Regions from separate parts of the Homo sapiens genome. Here regions 1, 3, 4, 5, 6 and 7 are each linked to region 2. Evidence: promoter capture Hi-C in human tissues and cell types (Jung and others, 2019). All regions are on one chromosome and are shown on one strand. The core of a region is centred on a gene start or on the middle of the fragment in contact, and the rest is flanking DNA. Distances in the headings are between cores, read along the strand shown. Region 1 overlaps KCNG2 (potassium voltage-gated channel modifier subfamily G member 2). Region 2 holds the start of RBFA (ribosome binding factor A). Region 3 overlaps PARD6G (par-6 family cell polarity regulator gamma). Region 4 overlaps KCNG2 (potassium voltage-gated channel modifier subfamily G member 2). Region 5 has its middle 3.4 kb from the start of PARD6G. Region 6 overlaps KCNG2 (potassium voltage-gated channel modifier subfamily G member 2). Region 7 overlaps KCNG2 (potassium voltage-gated channel modifier subfamily G member 2).

What was found. Contacts are between HindIII fragments. The study calls those that stand out against the background at their distance.
Region 1: a contact is called between a fragment that was not itself captured here and the fragment with the promoter of RBFA in region 2, in 2 of the 25 tissues and cell types used here (IMR-90 fibroblasts and lymphoblastoid cells).
Region 3: a contact is called between a fragment that was not itself captured here and the fragment with the promoter of RBFA in region 2, in 1 of the 25 tissues and cell types used here (mesendoderm cells).
Region 4: a fragment that was not itself captured here is called in contact with the fragment with the promoter of RBFA in region 2 in 7 of the 25 tissues and cell types used here (IMR-90 fibroblasts, dorsolateral prefrontal cortex, lymphoblastoid cells and 4 more).
Region 5: a fragment that was not itself captured here is called in contact with the fragment with the promoter of RBFA in region 2 in 3 of the 25 tissues and cell types used here (IMR-90 fibroblasts, dorsolateral prefrontal cortex and mesenchymal stem cells).
Region 6: a fragment that was not itself captured here is called in contact with the fragment with the promoter of RBFA in region 2 in 5 of the 25 tissues and cell types used here (H1 embryonic stem cells, IMR-90 fibroblasts, dorsolateral prefrontal cortex and 2 more).
Region 7: a contact is called between a fragment that was not itself captured here and the fragment with the promoter of RBFA in region 2, in 1 of the 25 tissues and cell types used here (mesenchymal stem cells).

Annotation. Positions count from the first base shown.
Region 1 is chr18:79,808,660-79,811,818 of GRCh38, forward strand. The region is part of intron 1 of KCNG2 (potassium voltage-gated channel modifier subfamily G member 2); the gene reads left to right. Among named protein-coding and RNA genes, the nearest start is that of KCNG2, 12 kb to the left of the region's middle. The HindIII fragment of the contact is 3,330 bases long and covers 1-2,982 here.
Region 2 is chr18:80,033,028-80,036,521 of GRCh38, forward strand. RBFA (ribosome binding factor A) reads left to right here and starts at 1,407. Exons shown (of 7, transcript NM_024805.3): 1 at 1,407-1,626. The coding sequence starts at 1,469. It also overlaps a transcript of TXNL4A not described here. RefSeq lists silencers at 693-862, 894-1,050, 933-1,252, 1,263-1,342, 1,453-1,602. The HindIII fragment of the contact is 12,317 bases long and covers 1-3,494 here.
Region 3 is chr18:80,228,827-80,232,055 of GRCh38, forward strand. The region is part of intron 1 of PARD6G (par-6 family cell polarity regulator gamma); the gene reads right to left. Among named protein-coding and RNA genes, the nearest start is that of PARD6G, 17 kb to the right of the region's middle. The HindIII fragment of the contact is 5,802 bases long and covers 1-3,229 here.
Region 4 is chr18:79,858,610-79,861,823 of GRCh38, forward strand. All of the region lies in intron 2 of KCNG2 (potassium voltage-gated channel modifier subfamily G member 2), which reads left to right. Among named protein-coding and RNA genes, the nearest start is that of KCNG2, 62 kb to the left of the region's middle. The HindIII fragment of the contact is 4,051 bases long and covers 1-3,214 here.
Region 5 is chr18:80,249,340-80,252,453 of GRCh38, forward strand. No RefSeq gene overlaps it. Among named protein-coding and RNA genes, the nearest start is that of PARD6G, 3.4 kb to the left of the region's middle. The HindIII fragment of the contact is 3,076 bases long and covers 275-3,114 here.
Region 6 is chr18:79,880,158-79,883,448 of GRCh38, forward strand. The region is part of intron 3 of KCNG2 (potassium voltage-gated channel modifier subfamily G member 2); the gene reads left to right. Among named protein-coding and RNA genes, the nearest start is that of SLC66A2, 70 kb to the right of the region's middle. The HindIII fragment of the contact is 7,076 bases long and covers 1-3,291 here.
Region 7 is chr18:79,837,658-79,841,026 of GRCh38, forward strand. All of the region lies in intron 1 of KCNG2 (potassium voltage-gated channel modifier subfamily G member 2), which reads left to right. Among named protein-coding and RNA genes, the nearest start is that of KCNG2, 41 kb to the left of the region's middle. The HindIII fragment of the contact is 8,072 bases long and covers 1-3,369 here.

The DNA of each region.
Region 1 (3,159 bases), core at 68-2,567, 220 kb before region 2:
CGCGCTCTGAGAAGCTGCCGGGGACACACTGACCACACTCCACGTTATGGGCCCAGAGTCCGCGCTCTGAGGAGCTGCCGGGGACACACTGACCACACTCCACGTTATGGGCCCAGAGTCCGCGCTCTGAGGAGCTGCCGGGGCCTCGCTGACCACACTCCACGTTATGGGCCCAGAGTCCGCGCTCTGAGGAGCTGCCGGGGACACACTGACCACACTCCACGTTATGGGCCCAGAGTCCGCGCTCTGAGAAGCTGCCAGGGACACACTGACCACACTCCACGTTATGGGCCCAGAGTCCGCGCTCTGAGGAGCTGCCGGGGCCTCGCTGACCACACTCCACGTTATGGGCCCAGAGTCCGCGCTCTGAGGAGCTGCCGGGGCCTCGCTGACCACACTCCACGTTATGGGCCCAGAGTCCGCGCTCTGAGGAGCTGCCGGGGCCTCGCTGACCACACTCCACGTTATGGGCCCAGAGTCCGCGCTCTGAGGAGCTGCCGGGGCCGCGCTGACCACACTCCACGTTATGGGCCCAGAGTCCGCGCTCTGAGGAGCTGCCGGGGCCGCGCTGACCACACTCCACGTTATGGGCCCAGAGTCCGCGCTCTGAGGAGCTGCCGGGGACACACTGACCACACTCCACGTTATGGGCCCAGAGTCCGCGCTCTGAGGAGCTGCCGGGGACACACTGACCACACTCCACGTTATGGGCCCAGAGTCCTCGCTCTGAGGAGCTGCCGGGGACACACTGACCACACTCCACGTTACGGTCCCAGAGTCCTCGCCCTGAGGAGCTGCCGGGGCCGCGCTGACCACACTCCACGTTATGGGCCCAGAGTCCGCGCTCTGAGGAGCTGCCGGGGCCGCGCTGACCACACTCCACGTTACCGGCCCAGAGTCCGCGCTCTGAGGAGCTGCCGGGGCCTCACTGACCACACTCCACGTTACGGTCCCAGAGTCCTCGCCCTGAGGAGCTGCCGGGGCCTCACTGACCACACCACGTTCCGGGTGCCCAGCGCACCTGCCGCTTATGCAGCTTTCGGTTCTAAACCTCGCTCCCCAGAAGGCAATCTTCACGCCCACTCAAGACGTACTTTTCGGATGCTGCAGCCCAGGCGTCCTACTGCACACTAGGAGCTGTGGTCACCTCGTCCAGAAAAAACAAGAATGTGGCCAAATGCCCGTGGCTGCCCTCTGCGTCTCCTTCATTGTTGCCGGTTTTAAAGCTTCTCCTCCCACTATCGTGACGCTCCAACTTTCCGGGGCTCATGGGGTTGTGGGGCTGGTGGGCGGAGTCCTGTGCTCATTGGCGTTTGGCTGTGGGTTCTGGTCTCAGCGCCGTCCACAGGGCCAGCCTCGCGGAGCCGCCCGCCCATTGCGCTGGGCCTGGGTGGAAGGGCCGATGAGGATGAAACCTCGAGGGAGCATCCCTCAGAACCTGTGTCAGCACCCAGCTGGGCTTCTCATGTGCAAAGGCAGAATCTGATTTAAAAGCCAGGGAAGATGGAGGCGGTGGGAGGGGGGAGTGGGTAATAGTCTAAAGGAAAAAAATCAGGTGAAAGGGACAAAAAGAGAAACTTGAAAAGGAAGCCTTGGAAAAGAGAGAAGAGAGGGTGGACAAAGAGGACCAAGATGAGACTGGAGAATTTCTGATCAGTGGGGAGGGGGGAAGCACCACGCCTAGTCCCGGAGGGGGTTTGCTGGGGGCTGCCCAGCACAGCTCTACAGGGCAGGCAAACCCAGCTTTGGTCCCATCTCATGTCAAATACTGATGCCGAGTGCTGGTGAGTAAAGGCAGGAAACGTAGAAATCAAAAATTAAAAAACAAAGTAGCCAGATGCAGTGGCTCATGCCTAGAATCCCAGCACTGTGGGAGGCTAAGGTGGAAAGATCACCTCAGAAATTTAAGACCAGCTTGGGGAACATAGCAAGACCCTGTCTCTAAAAAAAAAGAATTAACCAGGTGTGCTGGCACAGGCCTGTAGTTGCAGCTACTTGGGATGCTGAGGTGGGAGGATCACTTGAGCTCAGGAGTTTGAAGCTGCAGTGAGCTACAATCACACCATCACACTCCAGTCTGGGTGACAGAGTGAGATGCTGTATAAAAAGACAAAACAAACCAAAAAACGTAGAAAAAAACTAGAAGTAAATATATGCACAGTCTCTGAATGATGAGGACTGTCCAACCTTAGAAGCATGAGTCAGGCTCTTCTCAAAAACAAAAACAAACCAGAACTTAGAGTCAAACAATACTCAAAACTCAGCGTGTTGTTGTATACTAGCAATGAAAAACCTGGAAAGGAAATTAGGAAGACAATTTACTATAGCATCAAAAAGAGTAAAACCCCTAGCAAGAAATGTAACCAAAGAGGTGTAAGACTTGTATGCTGAGAACTACAGAACATTGCTGAAAGAAATTACAGACCTAAAGAAATGGAAAGACATCCCATGTTCACGGATAGGAAGACTTAACATTGTTAAGGTGGCAATACTCCCAAACTGATCTATAGATTCAATACAATTCCTATCAAAATCCTAGCTGACTTTTTGCAGAAATGGACAAGCTGATGCTAAAATTCATATGGAATTACAAGGGACCAAAGTAAGTGAAAAAAATCTTTAAAAAGAACAAAGTTGGAGTTCTCACACTATTTATTAAAACTTACTACAAAGCTACAGTAAGCAAAATAGTGTGGTATTGGCATAAGGAGAGACATATTGATCAATGGAATACAATTGCAATTCTAGAAATAAACCTATACATCTGTGGTCAGCTGACTTTTGATGAGAGTGCCAAGACCATGCAATGGAGAAAGAATAGTCTCTTCAGCAGATGGTGCTGGGACAACTGGATTCCACATACAAGAGAATAAATATCCAAAATGTCCATGATACAATAAAAAAAAGTCACTCACCAAGAACCAAGAAAACCAGAACATAAATGAAAAAAGACAATTAACAGACACCAACATCAAGCTGAATCAGATGTTGGTTTATATGACTACTATTTTAAAGTAGGCTTCACCAATCAACGATGGGTTTAAAATGCTTCACCAATCATGTATTTTCCTGAAACAAATGAAGGAATAGAAAATCTTAGCAAAGAAATGAAAGATATAAAAAAGAAAAAGATGAAATCACGTAACTGAAATATATAAC
Region 2 (3,494 bases), core at 157-2,656:
CCCCTTTAAATCTGGGGCCCTCAAAATCATTTTTGGAGAAAGGCGTAGACCTGTCTCCTGGGTGCGTCCTTAACTTTGGCAAATAAATCTCCTAAAATGATTAGAGACTTGTCTCGTCGTTTTCTTCGATTGACAATATATACACACATACATACGCATACACACACACATATATACGCGCACGCACATGCACACATATACATGTCCACACACATGCACACACACGTACATATGCACACATACACATGTACACATCCACACGCGCCCACACACACACACACACACAGACGTGTCTCACACCACAGCAGCCGCCTCGGGGGAGTCACAGCCCACGCATCCCCAACACTGCGGTCGCGCTCACTTCTCTTTCCACGCCCGGGGGGAGCAGCTTCCCCGCTGGGCCACGCTGACTCTGGGGAGGCGGGCGGGGCGAGACCACTTCTGGGGAGGACGCCCAATCTGGGGACTTTCTCTAGGTGCCCGGGGAGAAGGCGGCGCAGCAGCAAAGCCCTGGAGGGCCCAGTGGCGGAAACAGACGGACCCCTCGCAGCCTCCCGCCGACAGCGGCCCTGCCCAGGTCTCCAGGCTTCGATGCCTTCGTTGCTTTGTGCGGCGCACCCGCCTACGTCAGTTCCCAGTATTTAAACAAAACGTGTTCCTAGCTACGCAGCGCCAGGCAACCAGGCGGTTCCCACGCTTCCCCGAGTGGCACACCCTCCGCGCAGCCCACGCGGCCTCCCCACGCCCAGCTCCCGCCGGCCCCGCCTCGCGTCGTCCTTCGCCCCGCCCCCGTTGCCGCCCCCCCCGCCCGCACACTGCCCACCTGGCGTTGTCTTCACCCCGCTTACACGCCGCTCGCTTCGCTCTGGTAGTCGCCCACCTCGCGCTGCCCTTCTCGCTTCAGTCTTCGCCCTGCCCACCCACCGCCCACCTCGCGCCAGTCTTCGCCCCGCCCATTCACCGCCCGCCTCGCGTCAGTCTTCGCCCCGCCCAACCACCGCCCGCTTCGCGTCGGTCTTCACCCCGCCCACTCGCCGTTCGCCTCGCGCCTTCGCCCCTCCGCCGTTGTCGCCCCGCCCCTTCTTGCGTCCAGTCTTTGCCCCGTCCCTCGCCGTCGCCCCGTCCACACGCCGTCAGCTTCGCGTCTGTCCTCGCCCCGCCCACCTACCGCCCCCCTCGGGCCTTCGCCCCTCCGCCGTCGTTGCCCCGCCCGCCTTGCACCCCGTCTTCGTCCCGCCCCGCGCCGTGGCCCCGCCCACACGCCGTCAGCTTCGCGTCTGTCCTCGCCCCGCCCTGCATCATCGCCCCGCCCTGCATCATCGCCCCGCCCACACGCCGCCTGCCAGGCGTGAGTCTTCCTCCCGCTCTGCGCCGTCGCCCCGCCCACACGCCGCCACCCTCGCGTCAGTTGTCGCTCCGCGCCTGCGCCCGTTGTCTCCCTGCTCGCTCCGGGTCCCGGCGCCGCGCCATGTGGGCTGCGGCGGGCGGGCTGTGGCGCTCCCGCGCGGGTCTCCGGGCCCTGTTCCGTAGCCGCGATGCTGCGCTATTTCCAGGCTGCGAGCGGGGACTTCACTGCTCTGCTGTCTCCTGCAAGAACTGGCTCAAGAAATTTGCCTCGAAAACCAAGTAATGCGGCGGGGGCGGTGTCCCTGGGCGCGGTATTCCCTAGGGGGCGGTGTCCCCGGGTTGCGGTGTCCGCTCATCCGCGTTCTTGCGCCCATGCGGCCTAGCTCGCCAGTTCCTGCCTCCTGGGGTCTGCAGCAGTTCTAGCTCTCACTGTCAGCATTTGCAGCTTTTGTGTTCGTGGACGTGTGTCGGGTTAAGAAAACAAAGTGACAATGTGTGTTTATTTTGATTCTTGTCACCAGACGTATTTTTCAGAAGATTAGTTTCAGAAAATGAGGAAAAATGAAAAAATATAAGAATTTCCTTGCTAATGTTGACTTTCTGTGTGAATTTGAAGACTAAAGCTTGTCATGATAATTAGTGTTTTTAAATTATGAAAGATAAGTACAATAAAATACATTGACTTTTCACACTGCTTTTAGTTCTTCTAAGTATGGTAGGTGGTTGTATGTTTTCTACTTTAATACACTACTTTTAAAGACAGTTTTAGACCCTGCAGAAAAATTGCAAAAATAGTACCGCGTTCCTGTGTCCTGGCACCCAGCTCCCCCTGTGTTAGCGTCGGACTTTAGCTTCCAACGTGTTCCAGTTAATGAGCCGATATTGATAAGAGTGTTGCTAACTGAAGCTCATACTTTATTCACTTTTCCTTGGTTCTGCCTGCTGTCCCTTCCTGTCCCAGGTGCCCACCCAAGGTCCACGTTACATTGAATTGTCTTGTTTCCTTAGGCTGGGGTAGTGTCCCAGACTGTCCCTGGTTTTGATGGCTGTGCCAGTTTTGAGGGGTACTGGTCAGGTGCTTTGCAGGATGCCTCTCTGTTGGAATGTGCCTGTTTTTTTAATGCTTAGACGTGGATTATGGCTTTTGGGGAGGAAGACTACAGAGGTAAAGGCCATTCTCATCGCACCGTATCCAGGGTCCACGCTGGCCGTGATCCCCTGCATGAGGTGCTTGCCAGGTTTCTCTACCGTAAAGTTACTCTTTTTGCCCCCTTTCCTTACTGTACTCTGGGAGAAAGTCGCTGTGTGCAGCCCATGCCTAATGAGTGGGGAATTTTGCTCATAAGTGGTTTGCATTCTGCACAAGGGATATGTCTCTTCACCCCATGTATTAATTCATTCATATCACCAAGAACTCATGGGTTATAATCCCGTGTTACTTAGTTTTGTTCGAATGTTTCCAGCTCAGGCCCTTAGGAGCTCACTAAGCTCCTATGTCCTGTTTGCATACCCTGTCATTGTGGGGTTTTGCTGGGTTCTGTGTGTGTTAAACACTTTCCTACTTTCTGGCACTACAAGATACTCCAGGCTCATCTTGTGTGTTTCGTACCACAGCCCTAAAATCAGCCATTTCTCCAAGAAGCCCTCGTTCCTTTTATTGGAGAGAGAGATTAGAAACCATGGGTGCTGGGTGTGTTCATTGCTTCTGGGGTGTCTGTCTTTTGGGCCATCTCATCTGACGAAAGGATATATGTGTTTCTACTAACCCTTGTGTAAATATGCACCTATAAACATTTCCGTGTATAGCCATCTGTCTCCAACTCCAGACGTACTGTGTGGATCATTCTAGCCTCCTCTCCTTGCTGATCTGTAAGTCGCACTCCAATGGTGAGCGTGGCTCCCACCATCCATTTGCTTAATTGTTCAGTCTCAGTCTATGCCTATAACAGTATCTGAATCCTTTACTTGAACTTCCATGGGAAACATCTTTATCAATTAGCGTATAGTGTTTATGTGCAGTTTGGTAGGTGTCTTTTTAAGATCCTCTCTCTAACCTTGGGACTAGAAGTAGAATTTAGGTAAAAATTATGAGGTTGAATTAAAACCATCTTCAGCCTCTTCCCCACAACCCATGTTGTTATCAATTA
Region 3 (3,229 bases), core at 513-3,012, 200 kb after region 2:
CACAGGAAATGTTCATCAAAATACTTATAAGGGTGACAAATGGAAACAGTAAGTGCATCAAACACATGAAAGCACATTTCCAGGTGGAGATATGATGAAGCTAACAGAAGTGGGACTTATTTTATTTTAGAAGACGGAGTCTCACTCTGTCGCCCAGGCTGGAGTGCAGTGGCATGATCTTGGCTCACCATAACCTCCACCTCCTGGGTTCAAGCGATTCTCCTGCCTCAGCCTCCCGAGTAGCTGGGACTACAGGTGCATGCCACCACACCCGGCTAATTTTTTGTATTTTTAGTAGAGATGGGGTTTCACCATGTTGGCCAGGCTGGTCTTGCACTCCTGACCTTGTGATCCACCCACCTCGGTCTCCCAAAGTGCTGGGATTACAGGTGTGAGCCACCACAATTGGCCAGAAGTGGTATTTGAAAAGGATTTAAGGGCTCAAGGAAGCCTTTACAATATAGTAAATTTAAAAACACACACACAAAAACACAACACCGAATCTGCAGCGAGGTCCCAGTTAGGTCAGAAATTACCTTGGCACAAAACAGAGCAGATGGGCAAGGCCCCTGGGCTGGGAATCCTGTCTGAGCCAGGAGCCCCCTCAGGCCAAGGAAGTCAGGACCTCTGGGGCTGGGCCCAGGCAAGGTCATTTCAGAAAGTTCTAGCTCCTGCTCCTTGAGGATGTTCCTTGAACCAGAAGCATTCCCTGGAGCCAGCTGGAAATGCTCTACACCAGACCCGGAGTCCAAATCTGCACTCTCATGGGAGTCAGGGCTCATGTGCACATTAAAGGTTGCACAACTGACCTGTCTTCGTGTAGCTGATGGTTTGCTCGAGCCAGAAGTTAGACAGTAATCCACACATGCAAATATGTAATTGCAAACTCTGAGAGATGCAAATGAAGACTGTAAAACACAGGCCCTAATTTAAACTCAGGGAATAAGGAGTGGAAATAACTGGGTGAAGCGTGAGGACAGAGAGCATTTCATCCCATGGCACAACCAAAGGAGCCTGGACAGCCCCAGGAATGAGGAGGGCAGTGTGGGCGGCCAGGCAAACAGGACTGTGTGTGTCTGAGATGCTCCAGGGACGTGTTGACACAGGGAGTTGGCTCCAGGACGTGCTGGGGGCCTTCAGGTGTCTCCCACATTCCCCCACGCATCCAGGTGGGTCATAGGGTCACAGTGTCACCATTTCAGAGGAAGAAGACCCTCAAGTCTCACTGTCAGGGTGGGGTCACATGCCCAGCTCTAAACCATTCACTGGCAGGGGCTGAGACTCGCCTTAGACTGTCAGAGCCCCTGGCCTACAGCAGGGTCTGTTGGGAGGGGATGGCGATGCTGGCCTACCATCCAAGCCCAGACGCATTCCAGCTGTAAAGGATCTCACGCGTGTGCATGGCAAACATGAGCTGCCTCAGACCTTCAAGCCGGGGAGCACCTGTGCACATCTGTGCCCTGTAGGAAACTAAGAAACACAGAAAGAACTCCATGTAGGAAAAGAGAGTGCAACAGGTCTTAAAGAAATACAGGCGGTCATCCTAATGAGGAACCTGTTGGAGCGTGGGACTCGGCAGTAGTTTGCTATAGAATGACTTCTTGGGCTGACACGTTGGGACGGTTTAAAATCGGGCCACACACCTATGAGTCAGATGAGGTGGAGCCTGGCGCCTGCCTAGGTGCTGTCCACCCAAGATCCAGAGTGATGATGGTGCAGCCGTTGGCACTCGCAGAACTGCCCAGACGAGCATCATGCCAGACTGTGCAGGGTGACGGCTAAACCCACTGTACCCTGTGGCCCCTCTGAGCACAGACAGTCCCTGCAGAGGGCCTGCCATTCTGGTTCATGCATGTGTTCTGGACCAATGCACCCAGCACTGCTAAATGTAGGAGGTGGGAGGGGTAGCAGTGAGGGAGGGGTAGCAGTGGAGGACACAGAGGTCTATGAACATGGTCTCCGTCCAGAAGGGATTTACCATACAGGAGAGAAGTCAGAGTCTCTGCCAAGCTTTGTGTGCATGCTCTCTGTAATCCTGATGGCAACCCTAGGGAGGTGTCACTGTTCCCACTTTACAAACCAGGAGACTGAAACCTAGAGGGGTTCAATAACCTGCCCATAGTCACAAGGCTAGTAAATGAAGGACCTGAGGCTGAATTCAAAAAGGGAATTTGGAAAAGACCTAAAGAGCTACAGTGATGGGAGAGAGAATTCCAAATGGAAGGTCAGGGACAAGGGGTGCCCTTTGTGAGAAGGAACACCCCAGGTGGGAGGGGATGCCCCTCATGGAGGGAATGGACAAGGATGGCCCATCAGCAAGGGAGTGGGATGAACGGGCCAGGGTTACTCCAGAAGCAACTAAGGGCTCAGGAGACTCTAGTGCTGAGAGGTAGGGCCAGGGGAAAGGTGCTGGGGGTTGGCCTGGGCCCAAGTGTGTGAGGCGTGAGCACAGGCTGCGCATCTGTCCCTGCCTTCATAAGACTTTCCTGAAAGGTAAATTCACTTAGGCAGAAGCCTCGAACTCCAGCCCGTGGAAGAAAGTGGGGTCCCATTCCGATGTGAGCTCATGATACATGGAGGAATTAGGCAGTTCTGCATCCGAGCTGTGCTGCCCACTGGGAGCGGCTGAGGGGATGCAGGCTGGGTCACTGGAGTTGTACAAATACAGACAGACAACATAGCAAAGCTGCAAAGAGCCAGGCTCTGAGTGGACACACCTGGGTTCCAATCCTCACCTGTACTGGCTGTGTAACTCTGGATAATTTATTCAACTTCTCTGATCCTGTTCCTCCTTCATAAAATAGATAAAAACATTCATCCCAGGGTTGTGGTGAGACTCTAATATGAACACATGTCCTGTGTTCAATATAGGCCCTGGTGAGCGAGTGAGACTCCAGCCAATGGGAGCAATTCACTCGCTCAACTTGCTCACCAAGCTGTTTGTTCTCCCCCAGGCCTAGAGACGGGTTCGGCATCTCACAGGCATCCACAGGGATGGCTGCCGAGCCCTTCTCAAAAACCCAAAGTTGCAAGCACAGTAAAGGCAGACCTCTTGCATGTATGGAGTTATAATAGCACAGGATAGTAAGCCTGTTTTGGGCTCACACTGTGGGCCTGAGCTGCTGGCAGATTCAGCCTTCCGGCAGCTGAACCACAAGCCCTAATCTCTGAGCAGAAGCCACTGCGTTCCTACACTTGTCCCTTCACTGCTGGCAGGTAGCTGTTTTTC
Region 4 (3,214 bases), core at 633-3,132, 170 kb before region 2:
GAACTCCATGTTTAAATTTTTGAGGAACTGCCAGACTGTTTTCCACTGTGGCTGTGACATTTTATATTCCCACCAGCAATGTACAGGGGTCCAATTTTTCCACATCCTTTCCAACACTTGTTGGGTTTTTTTTTTCCATTTGTTTGACTATAACGACCCTAGTGGATGTGAAGTGGTATCTTGTAGTTTTAATTTACGTTTCCATAATGACTAATGATATTGATCACCTTTCATGTGCTTATTAGCCATTCACATACTTCCTCGGGAGAAATATCTATTCAGATCCTCTGCCCATGTTTAAATTGGGTTGTTTGTCATTTGTTGTTGAGCTCCAAGAGTTCCTAACATCCTGGATACTGGACTCTTATCAGATACGGGACTTGCAGCTCTTTTTTTTTCCACCGTTACTTGTCATTCATTTTCCTGGTCCTGTTCTTTGATATACAAGAGTTTCATTGGAATGAAGTCCAATTTATCTTTTTTTCTTTTGTTGCTTGTGCTTTTGGCATTCTGTTTCAGAAACCAATGTCTCATCCATGGTCATGAAGATGTACAGTCTGTTTTCTTCTACGTGTGTTTTGGAGTTTTAGCTCTTACATTAAGGTCTTTGATCTAGTTTGAATTAGTTTTTATATATAGTGTGATGTAGGCATCTTGGTCCATTCAGTGTTGCTATAAAGGAATACCTGGAGCCAGGTAATTCATTTTAAAAAGAAGCTTGTGATGTCATCATGATTCTGATGTCTGGAAAAGTTCAAGATCAGGCATCTGCATCTGAGGAAGGCCACAGGCAGCTCCAGTCATGGCAGAAGATGGCGTGGAGCTGGTGTGTGCAGAGACCACACGGAGATGGAGGAAGCAAGGGCTAGGGGTGCCAGGCGGGTTCAACAGCCAACTCTGGAGTGAACTCATAGAGCGAGAACTCACTCATTACCATGAAGACACCTCCCAGCCATGCATGAGGGATCAGCCCCCATGACCCAAACCCCTCCCATTAGGCCCCACCTCCGACACTGGGTATCAAATTCCAATATAAGATTTGGAGGCCAATATCCAAACGATAGCAGGGTCCAACTTTATTTTTTTACATGTGGATAACCGTTTGTTGGAGACACTATTACTTCTCCATTGAATAGTCTTGACGACCTTGTCAAAAGTGAACTGACGGTAGATTTATGGGTTCATTTCTGGACTTTCAATTCTGCTCCATTGATTTTTATGTCTCTCTTTACACTAGTACTACACTCTTGATTGCTGTAGCTTTATACTCACTTTGAGTAAGTAGTAATGTACTAGTCCATGTTCGCATTCCTATAAAGGAATACCTGAGACTGGGTAATTTATAAAGAAAAGAGGTTTAATTCGCTCATGGTTCTTCAGGCTGTAAAGGAGGCACGGTGCCAATGTCTGCTAAGCTTCTGGGGAGGCTTTGGGAAGCTTCCAGTTATGGCAGAAAGCAAAGGGGGAGCAGGCACGTTACATGGTGAAAGCAAGAACAAGGTTGCGGGGTAGGTACCACACACTTTTAAACGAACAGATCTCATTTCGACACAAGATTTAGGTGGAGGCATGTAATAAAATGATATCAAGTAAGTTTGAGCCCTCCAACTTTGTCCTTTGTCAAGTTTGTTTTGGCTACCTTGCATTTCCAATAGAATTTTCAACTTGTCAATAGAATGTTCAACTTGTCAATGTCTTCAAAAAAGTTACTGGGATTTTCATATGGATTGGATTGACTCTGTTGATCAATTTAGGGAAGATTGCCATCTTAACAATATTAAGTCTTCCAATACATGAGCATGGAATGTCTTTTCATTTATTTAGTCTTAAAATTTCTTCCACCAATGTTTGTAGTTTTCAGTTTTCAGTGTAGGTTTCAGTTTCCACTCCTTGGTTAAATTTATTTCTAAGTATTTTATTCTTTCTGATGCTCTTATAAATGGAATTTTTTTAACTTCCTTTTCCGATTATTCATTGCTTTTGTATAGAAATACAACTGATTTTTTTTACCGATCTCATGTCTTGCAACTTTGCTGAACCCATTCTCATAGTGATGTGTGTGTGTGTGTGTGCGCATGTGTATGTGTATGTGTGCGTGTGTGTTCTTTAAGGTTTTCTGTACATAAGATCATAAGATCAAGTCATCTCAAAATATAGTTTTACTTTTTTCTTTTGAGTGTGGATGCCTTTTATTTCTTTCTCTTGCCTAATTTTTCTGACTATAATTTCCAGTTCAATGTTAAGTAGAACTGATGAGAGCAGGTATTTCAGTCTTGTTCCTGGTCTTAGGGGAAAGAATCCAGTCTTTCACCGTTGACTATGGAGTTAGCGGTGAGTTTTTCCTACGTGGACCTTGTCATGTGGAGGAAGTTCTCTTTTAGACCTAGTTATTGATTGAGTTTTTTGTTTAATCAGGAAAGGATGTTAGACTTCGTCAAATCCTTTTTCTGCCTCTATTGAAATTATCGCATGATTTTTCCCTTCATCCTATAAATGAGCGTATTATAGTAATTTTGTGTATTGTGCCACCCGTGTATTCCTGTGATAAATCTCTATGGTAAACGATCAAATGGTCATCATGTATAATCCTTTTAATATGAAGCTGGATTTATTTTGCTCATGTCTTGTGGAGGATTTTTGCCTCTGTTTTCTTCTCTCTCTCTCTTTTTTTTTTTTTTTTTTTTTTGAGATGGAGTTCTCACTCTGTTACCCAGGCTGGACTGCAGTGGCGCGATCTCGGCTCACTGAAACCTCCGTTCCCAGGTTCAGGCAATTCTCCCTGCCTCAGCCTCCCGAGTAGCTGGGATTACGGGCACCTGCCACCACACCCCGCTAATTTTTGTATTTTTAGTAGAGACAGGTTTTTGCCATGTTGGCCAGGATGGTCTCAAACTCCTGACCTCAGAGGATCCACCTGCCTCGGCCTCCCAAAGTGCTGGGATTACAGGCATGAGCCACTGTGCCGGGTCTTTGTCTTTAGACAGTTTGTGGTGTGTCAGTGTGGATGTCTTTGAATTTATCTTACTTGGAGTTTGTTGAGTTTCTTAGATGTGTAGATTAATGTTTTTCATCGAATTTGGAGGGTTTTTAAACCATATTTCTTCAAATATTCTTTCTTCCCTGTTCCCTCTTTCCTTTCAGGACTCTCACTATGCAAAAGCTGGTACATGTGATGGTCCCACAGGTCTCTTAGGCTCTGTTCCGTTTTCTTCAC
Region 5 (3,114 bases), core at 563-3,062, 220 kb after region 2:
AGTTATAATCACTGCCCTTTAGAGAAATGCTAGGCTGGCCAGAGGACCGGATATGTAAACAGAGTTCCAAAACAAGGCACGTGCGCAGTAAGTAAGCAAGCAAACAAAAAATGCCAAGAGACACACACTTGGCAAGCAGACTGTGGACAGAGGTGCTGCCATTCTTTCAAGGGAAATTTCCTAAACTGAATGCAAATCTTTGGATTTGAGAAAAGTCACAGGCTCAATGCTGACTGCAAGTTGCCCATTACAGTGGGCAACATTGTTTTGTGGTTAGAAGAGGCTCAGTAATATCCTGAGGGAGGAGCTCCAACTGTCACATTTTAAGAAATGCAGGGACAAAGGAGTATGTGGAGGAATGAACAGCACTGTAGGCAATGAAGGTGGGAGTGGGGTCCACCCAGTAAGCTCGGGGCTTTGGAGTGGGAAGACGCCTTTTAAAGGAAAGGCTGGAAGGCTACGGAATTTCAAGTAGCCCTAGACTTGGCTCTGGACCAGGTTGATGAGAGTGAGATCACTTTGTCAATGCCTGTGGCTCAGAGTGTGGTGTAAGGCCCAAAATCTGCTCCACCTGGCACTTGTTAGCAATACCCCACCCAGACCCACTGAATCAGAATCCGCACTTGAACAAGATCCCCAGGTGATTCATGTCCACACTGAAGTTTGAGAGGTGCTGCTCCTTTATCTTAATCATCTGTTGCTCCACAGTTCTTGATTGGCATGATCTGCAGGCAAAAGCAGGAGGAAAGGCTGGGAAAGCTTGCTGTTGCGTGTGGAGCTTGAGTTTCCAGCTGAGACTTGAACTGGATTTGCTAGGGCTTTGAGCTCTAGGTTCAGGCGGGTATAGACCAAAAAAAAATTAACTGAGCCTTCAGCTGGAAAGGCTTTTACACAGTACAGCAGCCAGATTGGAAAAAACAAAAGCCCTCTCCTACCAGACACAGTGGCTCACACCTGTAATCCCAACACACTGGGAGGCTGAGGCTGGAGGATTGCTTGAGGCCAGGAGTTTGAGACTAGCCTAGGCAACATGGTGAAACCCTGTCTCTCCAAAAAAAAAAAAAAATTAGCTGGGCATGGTGGGACACACCTATAGTCCCAGCTACTCAGGCGGCCAAGGTGGGAGAATTGCTTGAGCCCAGGAGGTCGAGGCTGCAGTGGGCTATGATTGTGCCACTGCACTCCAGCCTGGGTGACAGAGAGAGACCTCATCTAAGCAAAAAGAAGGGAGTGGGGGAGGAAAAGGAAAAGAAGAAAGAAAGAGAAAAGAAAGGAGAGAGAGAAAAGACTCCTCAGATCCTGGCCTGATAGCCTGCCTTTTCACACAACTGGGGGTCATGGGAGCCTCTGAGAGGCTGACTTGTTTCAGACAGAAAATGAGAGAGAAAATAGGAATGGGTAGGGGTTAAATCTTCCTCAAATCACGGCTTCTAAGAACCCATCTAATAACTGAACCATCAGGAGCAAAAAGGAAGTATGTTGTGGACCCAGTAAAATGTATTCCTTGACTGGGTGCAGTAGCTCAAGCCTGTAATCCTAGCACTTTGGAAGGCCCCTCTGCAGTGGCTCATGCCTGTAATCCTAGCACTTTGGAAGGCCCCTCTGCAGTGGCTCATGCCTGTAATCCTAGCACTTTGGAAGGCCAAGAGGGGCAGATTGTTTGAGACTGGGGAGGCTGAGGTGGGAGGATTTCTTGAGACTGGAAGGTCGAGTGTGTGGTGAGCTGTGATCATGCCACTGCACTCCAGGGCATAGCAGAGTGAGACCCTGTTGAAAAAAAGATGAGAGCAGGTTCTTTTATGATGAGAGCAGGCTCTTTTATGATGAGAGCAGGCTCTTTTATGATTGAACATTTGTTGCTGATGTATATGTTCTAAGAAAACATTCTCTAAGATAATTTCGTTGGGTAATAGGAAAGCATCGCTGTAATATTTGAACCAGCAGGCTGTTGCATTTGCAATGCATTCTAATATATTTTCGGATGAGGCAGGCAAAGAACTGATATTCGATTGAAATAAGGAAATGGCAGAGTAGTTATGCCTCATTATCACCTGATTCTCATATAAAGGCATCCCTTCTTTTTACCCTTTACTCTTCCCCTGCTCAAAGAGGCCTCTTCTGCCTTTTTTAAAAATTTTCATTTTTGAGATGGAGTTTCATTCTTGTTGCCCAGGCTGGGGTGCAATGGCGCGATCTTGGCCCACTGAAACCTCCGCCTTCCGAGTTCAAGCGATTCTCCTGCCTCAGCCTCCCAAATAGCTAGGACTATAGTCATGTGCCACGACGCCCGGCTAATTTTGCATTTTTAGTAGAGACAGGGTTTCACCATGTTGTCCATGCTGATCTCGAATTCCTGACCTCAGGTGATCCACTCGCCTCGGCCTCCCAAAGTGCTGGGATTATAGGTGTGAGCCACTGTGTCTAGCCTCTTCTGCCTTTTTGATGCAGTAATATCTTGACTCTCAATGGAAGCTTCATGCCTAAATTGACTTACCAGTAGCTCTTTCAGCAGATGGCACCGTTGGCCAGAATAGAATGAATTCCCTGCATTCCAGAGCCATCTGCCCACATCCTACAAAGTGGCCCTGGTTGCATCCCCTAGATTGGTGCAAAGGGCTCTCTCCTCAACCAGCTTGCGGTGTGACCTGCATGTCCACCCCCAGGTGGAAGACAAAAGGCAGGTGGTAAACCTTACGCAGCTGTCTCTGACTTTGCATTAAAACTCTGGGACACTTTTACAAAATACAAATAAAAGCACCTAGAACATGAAGCACAGTCTTTGTTCCAAGTATTACACTAAGCATGGATTAGAGTCTCAGGATCTGTTTTAAAAAGAGTCAGTCCGTAAAGCTTTTCACTGACTTGGTGAATGTATCAGAATGTGATTTTATGGCAGAAAAGCGTGGTCAGTTTTCAGCCACACAGCATCCATTCATCAGCATGATTCATCTCCTCGTGCACACTCCCAAAGCATTTCAGAGGTTCAAAGCAGTTGCAGGCCCTACTGATTTCCTATTAGATGAAACTGCATGCTTTTCCTCTTGTCTATTTCAGCATGGTTTCTTGGTGGTCCAGTTTACGGCCATCTCCAAGATAATGTCTCTGATTCATCAA
Region 6 (3,291 bases), core at 747-3,246, 150 kb before region 2:
TCTACAAAGTCACCCAAAATGTGTAACATTAATATGCCAATAAATGGCCAGATCAGCATTTAGAAGTAGGGATAGTTACATGGGTTGGTTTTGAATATCACATGAGCCAAGATCGCGCCACTGCCCTCCAGCCTGGGTGACAGAGTGAGACTCTGTCTCAAAAAAAAAAAAAAAAAAAATTACATGTACAATTACTTTGATAAGACAAAAATTAACTTAAAAACATGCTCAGTCACCAAAATTCACTCAAGAAGAAATAAATAACATAATCCTATGGTAATTAAAAAAATTAAATTCATAGTTTAAAACCTTCCAGGAAGAAAATTCCAGGCCCAGGTAGTTTCACTGGTGAATCTAACAAAAATTTAAGGAATAAATAACACCAATTCTACATGGTCTCTTCCAGAAACATGTAAGAGGAGGGATCCCTTCCCAACTCATTCCAAGAGGCCAATACTCCTCTGATACCAAACCAGAGACATGACAAGAAAAGTAAAAACAAAGACCAGTGTCTCCCATGAACTCATGCGAAACTCCTCAACAAAACATCAGTAAATCGGGGTTGGTAAAGACATAAAAAGCACAGCACATCACGGCCAACTGAGGTTTTTCTCAGGAAAGCAAGCTTGGTTCGATACTCAAAACCAACCCATGTAATTCACAATATTAATGCACCAAAGAAAAAATGCCAGCTGTTCATCTCAACAGATGTAGAAAAAGCGTTTGACTAAATTCAGTATCCATTCATGATTTTTAAAACAGCACTTTCAGCAATTTAGGAATAGAAGGGAATTTCCTTTTCCTGATAGAGAACATCTACCAAAAAAACCCTACAGCTAACAACATACATAGCAAAAGACTGAATGTTTTCCCGTTAAGATTGGGACCAACCCAAGGATGCCTGCTCCCCACTCCTCTTCAGCACCTGTTGGCAGTCCTAGAGAGAGCAGTGAAGCAAGGAAAGTAGACGTCGTACTATTGGAAAGCAAGAGAATAGAACTGCATATGTAGAAACACGCTGTCCAATTGGAAAGCAAGAGAATAGAACTGCCTATGTAGAAACACACCATATGATTGGAAAGCAAGAGAATAGGACTGCCTATGTAGAAACACGCCGTACGATTGGAAAGCAAGAGAATAGGACTGCCTATGTAGAAACACGCCGTACGATTGGAAAGCAAGAGAACAGGACTGCCTATGTAGAAACACGCCGTATGATTGGAAAGCAAGAGAACAGAACTGCCTATGTAGAAATTCCCAGGAAACCCACAACAAAGCTTAAGAAAATTAAGGGAGTTGCTAGCAGTGAACTATTGGAATTCAAATTTTTTAAAGTTCATTAATAGCACCAAAAACCATGAATTGCTTACATGCAAGTCTCACAGCCTAGGTCCAGGATCCATCTACGTGCTGATAATTACAGCTAAATACAGCTGATAATTACTGATAAAGACTGAAATCAACGAAGGCCTGCAGTGCTCACGCGCTGAAGACTCGGTGTGACTAAGATGTCCACCCTCCCCATAGTCCATCTCCAGATTCAGTGAAATCCCATTCAGAATCCCATTTTCTGCAATATTTACAAGCTGATTGTAACATCTTTATGGAAAGGCCTAGGAACCGTTTTGAAAAAGCAGCAGTTGGAACTGACACTGCCTGCTTTCACGATTTGTTCTGAAGCCACAGCAGGACAGTGTGGGGAAAGGACAGGCGTGGGGTCGTGGACACAGTCCAGGAATAGAACCACATGAATGGGGCCAGCCGGCGTTTGGCAAAGTGAAAAGGCCGGGCACGGAGAAAGAATCGTCTTTTCAACAAATGGGGCTACAACAACTGAACTCCCATATTTTAAAAAAACACAACCCATGCCTTACGTTTTATACAAAAATTCAACTCAAGGTGGACCGTGGCCCTAAACATATAACATTTAAAACTATAAACTTGTAGAAGAAAACATAGAGGTGGCCTTGCCAATGGAGAGTAAGGAAGGAGTTCCCAGACGTGGCGTCAGATACGCGATTCATGAAATATGAAAATGGATAGGCTTCACTTCATTAGAATCTAAAACTCCTGGCCTAGTTGGGGTCTCAGGCCTGTAACCCTAACACTGAGAGGCCGAGGTGGGAAGATCACTTCAGCCCAGGAGTTCACGACCAGCCTGGGCAATATAGCAAGACCCTCATCTCTATTAAAAAAATTCTTTTGACTTTTGTCCACAAAAGACTGTTAAGAGAATGAAAAAACAAGCCTCAGACTGGGAGAAAATATTTGTAAATCACATATCTAACAAAGGACTTGTAATTAAGCTATATAAAGAACTGTATAAACTCAACTGTAAGAAAATAACCTGATTTTAAAAGGGACAAAGTTTTGAACAGACACTTCACCAAAGAAGACACGCCTATGGCAAATACAGCGCTGAACTGTTATTAGGGAAATACAGAGTTAAGCCACAGGAGCTGTCACTCACATGTTAGAAGGGCCCTGATCTAAAAACCAGCCGAGAGCAGCAAGCTCAAAGGAGGGTGCGCGGCCGGCAAGGCTCAGGACCTGCAGGCCATGGAGTGGCGAGGCTGCCATGGAGTGGCGAGGCTGCCGTGGAGCGCGGAGGCCGGGTACACCTGCGCGTGGAGCGCGGAGGCCGGGTACACCTGCGCGTGGAGCGCGGAGGCCGGGTACACCTGCGCGTGGAGCGCGGAGGCCGGGTACACCTGCGCGTGGAGCGCGGAGGCCGGGTACATCTGCGCGTGGCACGCGGAGGCCGGGTACACCTGCGCTCATCGCACACCAGCGCCCACGCCCAGGACGTACTCGCGGGAAGGACAGCGTGTGTCACGTACAGAGCGAGTGTTCAGCCGGCTTTATTCAGCACGGCCTAGCCCGGAAGCAGCCGACACGGACCGCGACGGCCGGTGCCAGATCAATCCCGGTGCATCCACGGTGCGCGGTGAAAAGCAGCAAAGGGTGGGTGCCCGGGACAGCACGAATGGGCTCGCAGGGCCTGACGCGGGAGAGGCCAGGCCAGGAAGCCACGCTGCGATCCCGTCTATGGGATACCTGGGAAAGCCAGGGGTTGGGGGCCAAGACTGGGTGGGCGGGGTCCGGCTGTGAGGCAGGGAACGGCGGGGGGAAGCTGGGGGAGCTGTCCTGCGTCTTTGCGCTGCGTTTTCGCGGTAGTGGTGGTTCCAGGACCGTGATTTGTCCAGACCCATAAAGCTGAGCTCTGATGAGCGAGCAGGTCCTTTTGCATAAATCTTTGGGCTCATTTCTGACGTTCCCTGACAACTCCCC
Region 7 (3,369 bases), core at 175-2,674, 200 kb before region 2:
TCTGAGACCACCTTAGCCTGGACTTCATTGTCCATATCTCTATCAGTATTTTGGTCAAAACCATTTGACAAGTCTCTAGGATGTTCCAAACTTCCCCACATCTTCCTGTCTTCTTCTGAGCCCTCCAAACTCTTCCAACCTCTGCCCTTTACCCAGTTCCAAAGTTGTGTCCACATTTTCAAGTATCTTTGTAGCAGTGCCCCACTCCAGGTACCAATTTTCTGTATTAGTCCATTTTCACGCCTATACAGAACTACCTGAGACTGGGTAATTTATGAAGAAAAAAGGTTTAATTGACCCACAATTCCACATGGCTGGGGAGGCCTCAGGAAACTTACAGTCATGGCAGAAGGTGAAGGAGAAGCAAGACCTTCTTCACATGGTGGCAGGAGAAAGCGAGAGTGAGTGAAGGGAAAGTGCCTCACTTTTAAACCATCAAATCTCAGGAGAACTTGCTATCACAAGAACAGCAGGGGGGAACTGGCCCATAATCCAGTCACCTCCCACCAGGTCCCTCCCTTGACATGTGGTGATTACAAATCAAGATGAGATTTAGGTGGGGACACAGAGCCAAACCATATCAAAAGTATACCATAAAACAAATCTCAACAAATTTAAAAGAACTGAAATCATATAAGTGTTCTCAGTGTGGTTCTCTGAGCATAATGGAATAAAACTGGAAATCAATAATAGAATAATCTTCAAACACTGGAAATTTAAATCATACTTCTAAATAATCCTTGGGCCAAACAAGTCTTTTTTTTTTTTTTTCCTGAGACAATGTCTCTCTGTCGCCCAGGCTGACTGCAGTGATGCAATCATGGCTCATTGCAGCCTCGACCTCCTGGGCTCCAGCAGTCCTTCAACCTCAGCCTCCTGAGTAGCTGGGACCAAAGGTGTGCACCACCATGCCCAGCTAATTTTTAAATTTTTTGTAGAGATGGGGTCTCCCTGTGTTGCCCAGTCTGATCTTGAATTCCTGGGCTCAAGTGATCCTCCCACCTCAGCCTCTCAAAGTGTTGGGATTACAGGCATGAGCCACCTCACCTGGCCCAAAGAGGAAGTCTTAAGGGAAATCAAAACATACATTGAACAGAATGAAAATATATACACAACATATCAAAATTTGTGAGACCAAGCTATACAGTGTCAAGAGGGAAATTACATTAGAAAAAAGGAAAAACCTCAATGTACAATCTCAGGTCCCACCTGCAGTACCTAGAAGAGGAAGAGCAAAGCAAGTAGAAGGAATGAAATAATGAAGAGCAGAAGTCAATGGCGCTTAGCCCAGTAGAACAATAGGGAAAAGCAGTGAAACAAAGAGCCGACTCTTTGAAAGGATCAATAGAATAAACTTGGCCAGATGCAGTGGCTCACACCTGTAACCCCAGCACTTTGAGAGGCCAAGTCAGGAGGATCATTTGAGTCAGGAATCCAACACCAGCCTGGACAAGACCCCACCTCTACAAAAATATAAATTTAAAAATAAATTAGCAGAATATGTGGGCGCATGCCTGTCATCCCAGCTACTTGGGAGGCTGAAGGGAGAGGATCACTTGAGCCCAGGTCAAGGCTGCAGTGAGCCATGATCATGCCACTGCACTCCAGCCTGGACAACAGTGCAAGACCCTGACTCTAAATGCATAAATAAATAAATAATTCCTGGCAAGCCCAACAAAATTAAGAAGAGAGAAGACACACGTTACCAACGTCAGGAACAAAATAGAGGACATAACTGCATACCCTGTAGACATCAGAAGTGTGAGAAGGGAACCCTGCCAACAACTCTACATGCACATTTGACAGCCCAGATCTACTGGACCGATTCCTTGGAAAATACACACTACCACAATTCACCCAGTGTGAAATAGATCATGAGAATAGTCCTATAACTGTTAATAAACTTGAATTTGTAAATTAAAAATTCCTGAAAAAGCAATCTCCAAGCCCAGATGATTTCACTGGAGAACATCTAAACAACTAAACCTCTGAGTAAACATCTAAGGAAGAATTAACACCAATCTATACTGTCTTTTCCAAAAAATGGAAGAGGAGGGAACATTTTCTAAAACCTTATTAAATATTAGCAAATAGAAATCAGCAATACGTAAAAGGAATTATACACCATGGCCAAGTGGAGAGTTTATTCCAGGGATGCAAAGATGATTCAGTATTTAAATTCAATCAGTGTAAGCACCATATTGACAGGCTAAAGAAAAATCACATAATCATATAAGTTGATGCAAAAAACTTTTTAAATAACACCTCTTTTGATAAAAATTCTCAGAATATAGGAATCAAGGGGAAGTTTCTTGACTTGATAAAGAGTATCTACAAAAACCTTAGCTGACATACACTTAATGGTGAAAGACTGAATGTTCTTCCCCTCAGATGGAGAACAAGGCAAAAATGCTCACTTTCATCACTCTTATTCAACATATAACTGAAAGCTCTGGTCACTGCAGTGGGTAATAAAATGAAATAAAATGTATATAAGTTATAAAGGAAGAAATAAGACTGCCCCATTTGCAAATTACATGATTGTATACACAGAAAATCCCAAGAAATCTACAAAAAGCCAAAAAAAACTCTTAGAACTAATAAATGAATTCAGCAAGATTGCAAGACATAAGATAAACATACAAAATCAATACACTAGCAAGACACATGGATATCAAAATTAAACATAGAATATAATACCCTTTACAATTGTTCAACAAAATGAAATACTTAGGTATGAGTCTAGCAATACACATATAGAACTTTAATGCTGAAGACTACAAAAGGCAAATAAAAGAAATAATCTAAATAAATGGAGAGATGTATCATGTTCATTTATGGAATTAGCTTATTAAAAATGTCAGTTCTCCCCAAATTGATATAAAAATTTGAGGTTAAAATCCCAGTGATTTAAAAAATATATAGATGAGATTATCTAAAATTTATATAGAAAGTCAAGGGAACTAGAATAGGTAAAATTATTTGGAAAAGAAGAATAAAGTGGGGAAAATCCATCCACCTGATTTCAAGGCATGTTATATAGCTATAATAATTGACACTTTGTGGTATTGGTGGAGGGATATGTACATAGATCAGTGGAATAGAACAGAGAACCCAGAAATAGATCCACAAAAAAATTCCTGATTAACTTTGACAGAGGTTCAAAAGTGATTCAGTAAAGTAAATATAACCTTTTCAACAAACAATAAGACATCCATAAGCCAAAAAAAAATGAATCTTGACCTAATCCCACACCTTATACAAAAATTAACTCAAAATGGATCATGACTTACAATAAAACTATAAACATTACAAAAATAACAAGAGAAGCCTGGTTGTGGTGGCTGATGCCAGTAATTCCAGCACTTC